3 separate regions of the Homo sapiens genome follow, and all the other regions are linked to region 1. Evidence: promoter capture Hi-C in 16 types of primary human blood cells and fetal thymus (Javierre and others, 2016). All regions are on one chromosome and are shown on one strand. The core of a region is centred on a gene start or on the middle of the fragment in contact, and the rest is flanking DNA. Distances in the headings are between cores, read along the strand shown. Region 1 holds the start of LINC01562 (long intergenic non-protein coding RNA 1562). Region 2 overlaps FAF1 (Fas associated factor 1). Region 3 overlaps FAF1 (Fas associated factor 1).

What was found. The method cuts DNA at HindIII sites, captures the fragments that hold promoters and counts their contacts. A CHiCAGO score of 5 or more calls a contact.
Region 2: a contact is called between a fragment that was not itself captured here and the fragment with the promoter of LINC01562 in region 1, in 1 of 17 cell types (total B cells). The highest score is 5.8, in total B cells.
Region 3: a contact is called between a fragment that was not itself captured here and the fragment with the promoter of LINC01562 in region 1, in 2 of 17 cell types (total CD8 T cells and erythroblasts). The highest score is 5.4, in total CD8 T cells.

The regions. Positions count from the first base shown.
Region 1 is chr1:51,233,805-51,236,504 of GRCh38, reverse strand. LINC01562 (long intergenic non-protein coding RNA 1562) reads left to right here and starts at 1,409. Exons shown (of 2, transcript NR_147076.1): 1 at 1,409-1,540. It overlaps RNF11 (ring finger protein 11), which reads right to left and starts at 232. Exons shown (of 3, transcript NM_014372.5): 1 at 1-232. RefSeq lists a silencer at 1-447. The HindIII fragment of the contact is 11,293 bases long and covers 560-2,700 here.
Region 2 is chr1:50,719,421-50,722,120 of GRCh38, reverse strand. The region is part of intron 6 of FAF1 (Fas associated factor 1); the gene reads left to right. Among named protein-coding and RNA genes, the nearest start is that of FAF1, 240 kb to the left of the region's middle. The HindIII fragment of the contact is 7,975 bases long and covers 1-2,700 here.
Region 3 is chr1:50,698,548-50,701,247 of GRCh38, reverse strand. All of the region lies in intron 7 of FAF1 (Fas associated factor 1), which reads left to right. Among named protein-coding and RNA genes, the nearest start is that of FAF1-AS1, 260 kb to the right of the region's middle. RefSeq lists enhancers at 338-1,002, 1,003-1,668, 134-1,725. The HindIII fragment of the contact is 217 bases long and covers 1,288-1,504 here.

The DNA.
Region 1 (2,700 bases), core at 160-2,659:
GGGGGGCGGGGAGACGAAGCACTTCCCCACCCCGCCCCCCCGCGGGGCGGCGGCGGCCACGGAGCTGCTGGGCCTAATCCAGGTCAGCGGGGGGGGGCGCGGCCGTCGCGGCTGCCTCAGCTGCTGCCTCAGCTGCTGCTGCCCCCGCCGACGCCGGAGCCACGGCCGCGGGCCTCATCCTACTCCGCCTCAGCGAGACGGCGGCAGCCAGAACGAGGCCGGCTCGGGCACTGCGTCATCGCGCCGTGCGTGCTCTGGTCCCGCCCCCGGCGCCAGGAGGCGAGGGCGGCTCCGGCGGCGCCCATCCCCCTCTCCACTAGCAGCTGTTCTCGGTGCTGCGTCAATTTTTGCTTCTCTCTGACTGCTTGGCTCCGTACCTGGCTCCGAAACCAATCTCCCGTCTCCCGCGCCTCCCCACATTCATTGCTCCTGCCCCGTCTAGGGCTCAGTTCTTACCTGTGCACTGCCTGACAGTCTTCTCACCACCCTCCGCCAAGCGGTCTATTTATATAAACCCATATCGGAATGGATCAGTCCCATGATTAAAATGTTAAAAGCTTCCCCTTTATCCCTTCACAATAAAGTCCTAGCTCGTTACTGAACCATCCCTGCCTGTCCAATCACGTCCTTATCCTTCCACATCACAGCCAGAGAGATTATTCTTCCAGTTGTATATCAGATTGTTCATTTCTTTCCAGTCCCAGCACCAAAGTCCAAGCCACCATCATCTCTCACCTTGGCTTCTGCAATAGACTCTCAGCTGTTCCTGAGTTCATCATTGCCCACATCCAATTCACTGTTGGCACAGTTGACAGAGTTATCTTTTTAAAATTTAAATCGGATCATGTCATTCTCCTGTTAAAACCTTCAGTGTCTCCTCAAGGCTGTCCTTAAGACAATCCTTAAATGGTTTACAAATCTGACTCCCTTTCAATCTCATTAGCAGCATTGTCACCTCCTTCACAAATTCTAAACTAGACTCTCTAAAATGCTTTTCGTTATCTGGAATACTATTGCCTCTGCCTGGGGCCTTTGTCCATATTGTTTCTCTCACAGAAACCCACTTCCCTCCACTCCCAACCTTTCTGCTTCTCATCAGGCTAATCATTATTCTCAGGAATCCTTCTGGATGCAACTTCATTTCCCCTGGGGAGACTCTCCTGACCCTCCAGTCTGGGTTAGTCGCATCCTGTGTGCTCTCAGACCCTGAGCTTTTCTCTGTCACAGCCTGATCAAGCTGAATCATCTGTCCCTCTGTGCAAGGCTGGCACACTGCCCAAGGTAGAGTATGCTCTCTCCTTGGTTGAATGAGCAGCTCAAACAACATATGCAAAAGAAGGAAGCAAGAAGGATGACAGTGCTCCTGATAGACGTTCATTCAACAGGTGGATCTTGACTGCCTTTCGTTTCATTCACCATTTACTGAAGTTGTGTGTGCGTGTGTATACCAGACCCCACGCTAAGGACTGGGGAAAAGGATGATCATACCTGGCTTGTTCCTGATAGAGCCCAGAGACCACCTGGGAAGACAAGTAATCAGGTGAGTCCTAAGCCCACACCCTGCCACGGACCCCAAGGTTTTTAGAGGAACTGAAAGACAGCAATTAGTTCATTTGAGTGAGGAACAGAAAGGATTCTTAGAGGTAGGGCTATATTAAACTCGAATGGGTCTGAACACTCTTACTCTGCAGTCCCTATTCTACGAAGTCACTATCTTATTTAAATGCACTCAAATTCCACATTAAATATCACCTTTTTGATATAAAATTTTTGAAAAGACTCATAATTTTGGGCCAGGCGTGGTGGCTTACGTCTGTAATCCCAGCAATTTGGGAGGTCAAGGCGGGTGGATCACTTGAGGTCAGGGATTCGAGAGTAGCCTGGCCAACATGGTGAAACCCCATCTCTACTAAAAATACAAAAACTAGCCAGGTGTGCTGGTGCACGCCTGTAGTCCCAGCTACTCGGGAGGGTGAGGCAGGAAAACCGCTTGAACCTGGGAGGTGGAAGTTGCAGCGCAGTGAGCCCAGATTGTGCCACTGCACTCTAGCGTGGGCGAGGGAGTGAGTAAGACTCAGTCTCAAAAAAAAAAGGAAGGAGAAAGAGAGAGAGAGAGAAGGGAGGCAGGAAGGAAGGAAAGAAGGAAGGGAGAGAAAGAGAAAGAGAAAAGAGAAAGAAAAGAAAGAAAGAAAGAAAAGAAAGAAAGAAAGAAAGAAAGAAAAAGAAAAAGAAAGGAAAGAAGGAAAGAAAGAACAAACTGACTCACAATTTTGGTTTTGGAATTGTTGAGCTTCCAAGAACTCATTTAATTTATGATTGGCTAAATTTACCAGAAATCAGAGGTACCCTGGAATTTTTACAAAGTGAGAAAATTTACCCCACAAATTATTGTCAAACCTAAAGAAATTTTTATTAATAATAATTTATACAATTATTTGACATAATATTTACACAGTGCTAGAATTTGTAGACATTGTTTGTTTGTTTTGGAGACAGGGTCTCACTCTGTCACCCAGGCTGGCTTGATCGAGGCTCACTGCAGCTTCAACCTCCTGGGCTCAGGTGATCCTCCTGCTTCAGGCCTCTCCAGTAACTAGAACTACAGATGCACACCACCATGCCTTGCATTTGTTTTTGTTTTTGGTAGAGACGAAGTCTTGCCATGTTGCCCAGGCTGGTCTCAAACTCCTGGGCGCAAGC
Region 2 (2,700 bases), core at 2-2,501, 510 kb after region 1:
AGTGGGGGACTCCTGTGGCTAAGTATTTTTGTTTTCAAAGTAGAAAAAAACAGTAGGTTTTTAACTTTTTAATATCTCCAAATAATTTGCTACAATTTCTTTTGAAATGATTTTTCTGTGAGTGTGACTTCTTCATGCTGGCTTTTTTAGTGATCAGTATTTGTGAGGTTTTAGCAGTGCAGCAGAAAAGGAGACCTGGCCAGGCACAGTGGCTTCCTACTGTAATCTCAACACTTTGGGAGGCTAAGGTGGAAGGATTGCTTGAACCCAGGTGTTTGAGACCAGGCTGGGCAACATAGTGGAACCTCATCTCTACAAAAAAGTAAAAAATCAGCCAGGCATAGTGGCACGTGCCTGTAGTCCTAGCTACTTGGGAGGCTGAGATGGAAGGATTGCTTGAGGCCAGGAGGTTGATGTTGTTATGAGCTGAGATTGTACCACTGACTCCAGCGTGGGTGACAGAGTGAGACCCTGTCTCCAAAACCAACAAACAAAAAATGATTTAATAAAAAGAAAATGAGACCTTAAAGTGGCCTGTAAATAAGTTTTTTGAAAACTTTATATATGTAAGTAAATGTCTGAATGATTCAGTTGTAATTTTTTTTTCCGGCCGGGCACGGTGGCTCACACCTGTAATTCCAGCACTTTGGGAGGCCGACGCAGGCGGATCCTGAGGTCGTGAGATCGAGATCATCCTGGCCAATATGGTGAAACCCCGTCTCTACTAAAAATACAAAAATTAGCTGGGCGTAGTGGTGCGTGCCTGTAGTCCCAGCTACTCTGGAGGCTGAGGCAGGAGAATTGCTTGAACCTGGGAGGCGGAGGTTGCAGCGAGCAGAGATCGCTGGTGATAAGAGTGAGACTCGTCTCACTTATCTCCAGCCTGGTGGTGAGACTTATCTCCAGCGTGGTGATAAGAGTGAGACTCCTCTCAAAAGAAAAAAAAAAAATTTCCCAAAGTGCTTTACGAAACAACTTTTTGTTATTTTCATGAATGATATTGTAGGGAAGCAATAAATGTTTTCCCTCCACCCTCTGGGGTCTTGGCTGGGTACAAATTGCATTTACATAAAACAGATTAACAAGAGGAAAACATACTTAATTATATATGTACACATAGAAGCCCCACAAAATATGAGACTCGAAGAATGATCAAATGATTGAAACTTATATGGCATCCTGAGCTACAGAAAGGAATAGGAGCGTGGGGCTTCTGGTGGATGGTATGATACAAGTTATGAGAGGGTAAGGAGAGGAAATGTATGGTGAATAAAGGTTGTCTTATTATACAAATAAAAGGTCTCTCAGGTAGTAAAAATGGTCTCAGAGTAGCTCTCAGAAGAAGAGGTGATCATCTGTCTGGGTATGGTTTCAGCCTTCAGTCTCCTTTTCTGTAACATGAGTTAATTTTCCCTGGTTGATAAGATTCCTAGGGTGGGGGTTCAGGACAGTTGAGTTCCTTTTGGAGGATCTGTCTTTAGGCAGATAAGGAGAGCTCATAGAAAGCCTGTGTTTGTGTCAGCTGTTCCCCAAGTGCCCTCAGTTCAAAGTAAGCAGCATACCAAAGTGTCATATTGTGGGGTTGGCATTTCCTGAACTCCGTCAATATTTATCCGTAAAAGTATTTTAAGTTATCAGTATTGTAATTAGAACAATGCATGATTTGATATATTATTCTTAAAGTAATTTCATTTCTCAAGAATAAATTGATATAATCAGTATTTCAAGTACATTGTGATTACTGTTCAACTTAAATTTAATTGTAGTGAGCATCATTGTTAGATTTTTAAAAGTGAAATTTGAAAGTACTGGGCTGGTAAATGTTTTTTAATAAGGGGCCACTTAAAAGTGGCTCATTTTTTGGGAGGCCAAGGCACGCGGATCACCTGTCAGGAGTTTGAGACTAGCCTGGCCAACATGGCAAACCCCCGTCTCTACTAAAAATACAAAAATTAGCTGGGTGTGGTGGTGCATGCCTGTAATCCCAACTACTTGGGAGGCTGAGGTAAGACAATTGCTTCAACTCAGGAGGTGGAGATTGCAGTGAGTCAAGATTGCACCACTGCACTCCAGCCTAGGTGGCAGAACAAGACTCCTTCTCAAAGAAAAAAAAAAAAAAAGTGTGTTTAATTTTAAGAAGAGGACATTTCCCAAAAGTTATGCACTCTGGATGAAAGAAGAAACTTGTCCTCAATTAAAGCACTGATGGAAATCACAACACATCTAATTGGAGTGAGGTACCAAACCCATTTATACAGTTTATTGCCTATTGATAGTTCAGTGACTACTGAGATTAGCTTGTTAGCATCACATTTTGAAAAAGAACTGCGGGTATTCTCTACGGTTGATTTAATGGATAGTCAGAAACTTGGTCACTACTCTAGGAAACAAAAATTGATATGTCTATAAATATTTCTTTGCTTTTTTCAAATTTTGTCTAGATGGTTAGAATTGTGTTTTGACAGTTTTGCCATGTACTACTTGATGCATCACAATATATCACTATCATCACTAATTACCACATTTTGATTAATTTTACATACTTTGGTTAATACATTTTGATGTATCCAATATATCACTATATTGATTAAACAGTAATTATAGACCTGAGGCCACCTGAACTTTGAAATCATCATGAAAAATGTTATTAGAAATTATGTGAAACCAAATGTTTATTTATCTAGACATGTTTAATTGCCA
Region 3 (2,700 bases), core at 147-2,646, 540 kb after region 1:
AGATAAATGGCATATATTGGATCAATTAGAATGAACCAATTTAATTAACATATATTATAGTTTGATTTTTTAAAATTTGAAATCACGAATGACATTTTAGCAAGAATGAAAGAGATAATTTCTTCTGCAACTGGGCAGTGAATTCAAGCCTTTATTCAGCTTTCAGAAAAGACGATTATGCATCTTTTAAATATGCATATATATTATTAGTTTCAAGTTGCATTTGAAAACTGAGATCTGTTGAAATCATACCACTTCAAATGAATATAAATCAGTAGGGATCATTTTATAAATATTGAGGTTTCCTGTGATTCTTAACAAATTATCCCCTGAAGTAATAAATTTAATATTTATAATGCAGCTCTTTGGAACTGACAAGTCTTTTCCCCTCTCTGGAACTATTTTAGAATAATCTGGATTGGATATCTTTTTTGGCCCATATAAGTATTTGTCTACCTGCATTTCAAGACGATAGAAGCAATGACATTTTAAGAATTAAGAACAGTCTTTAGCCTTTTGTTACTTAAGATATGTGTATCAAACATGATAGCTGACCACATTTCATCATCTGTGATTTATGTGTTGGTAGTTTTGAAATGCCTGGGTTAAGAGAAATTCCGTTCAGTTATCAGAAACTAATAAACATAAGATTTTTTTATATGCAAGAAAAGGCAGAGAGTAAATAATTGCACTGGTGACCAATACTGTAATAATCCTGTTTTACAATATGCACTTGACAGGTTGTAATAGTGCTAATTGAAGAGACTAATTCACACTTGCTTCATTCTATTCAAAGGCAAAATCAGCAGCTTGTTTTGCTTTTGACCAGATGGTCCTCATGAACACCTACTGTGCACTTTAAGTGCTTTACTAGAATTACAAAGGCCGGGGGCTGCGTTCGACTCCAAATGATTTGAGAAGAGAGAGAGAGAGGGGGGAAAAGAACCTCTGTGCTCAATGGATTTGGTGCAAGTAAATTAATTCTAGTGGACCCATTACACACAGCCCCCTTTTCAAAGCTCTGAGCCTCCTCGCTTGCTCTGTAGCAATGAGAAAGAGAAAGGCAGATTACTGCAAACAGAAATAAAAAAAAAAAGGGGGGTATGAAAGGGAGAAAAGAGGCCTTGAAGCCTTTCATATCATTTGAGTTTTTCAAGTGCGTTATTTTTGGGGAGGGTGGATGTATGAAAAGCCAATTGGAGTTTTTTTTGTTTTAAAGTGCGCTATTTAAGCACCATGAATATAGGCGCAAGAGCAACAGTTGACTGAGTTTACTGTGGTGAAGCTTTGTGTCCGAGGATGAATCAAATTCATTATATTCAACTCTTTGTGTTTTAACATGAATGTAGGGTTAGTTTCACAAGACTGTGTCTGTTTAGGATAATTATAATTTAATATTTTCCTTTCATAAAGTTATCACTGTAGATGTCTAAAATTTTAATCAAAGCAGATTTTGTACATTGACTTTGAAGCACCCTGACAGTTTAAAATTCAAAGGAAAGCTTTTTTAGTTTTCAAAAGAAAAGGAAGGCTCATTCTAATGGCATTGAAGCAGAGATTATTATAACTAATTAGAAGTCACACATCTGTTAGCTTTTGGTTTCTGACTTACTTATGTATTTTTTGAGTAAAATATATACTTTAAAAATATATTGCTGTTATTGTGTGAACCTAAAGGGATAAAATGCACTTAAAAGAGAACCATTTATTTGAGCCAACCATTTTTTGCAAATCTCTAGATGGTCCTATAAAAATATGTAATGTAATAAAGTACATTAAGTGTGAATTGCAGTTGTATAATTAATAATCTTACTTTGGAATATGCTTTCAAACAATATTTTCACACAGTTCTGTTGTCATAATTCTGATTATTAACCAAAGTTATGAGATTAAAAAAACCTGTCCAGTTTGTACAAATTTATAGTTATTCCTTATCCTTAAAGCTGTTCATGTATAGTACTGTAATTTGGAATACTAAGACTGTGAAATAATTAGTTCTTATTGTAAACTATGTGGGTTAGGATACAAGGAATCAAATTTAGGAATATACATCACCTGCTTTTTATGTTTTTGTAGTTCTAAATTTAATTCTTGTGATATATTTTAGTGGCATTGTTTACTTTTGTTTGATGGCATATATTACCGCCACCATGTTCATTTTAATTTTAATTATAGCTATTATCAAAGAATACAACAAAATCATACCAATAGTTCATCATGATAATTGTAAATGTTTCATAGTCTTCTTAAAGTTTGTATCGTCTCTTCAAATTAATGTCTAGAATTTATATTTTAAAAGGCATATTGCATCAATAAGCTTTTTATGTCAATAAGTTTTAATTACATTTTTAGAAAATAAAACACAGAAATGCACAAGCAACCCCAAAAATCTTTTTTATTTCTTAAAGACTTCATTTAAGAAGGTAGCATGCCTTTTATATATTTAAAATAAAATTTGATTCATATTAATGTACTCATACTTTGGGAGTGCTCATTGAAATGTAAGTTATAGGGTGAGGAGGGATATAAGGAGAATTCCCAAACCTTCCACCAGCAAAATATACAATGAAATTTGTAAGTAATGAGGCATTAATGAATTGATATCCTTGGGGAGAAAAACATTTCAAGAAAAAATATGAAAGATTAAGAAAAACTCACTGCAAAAAATTTTTTGCAGCAGACCATTTAAAATAAAGGTAA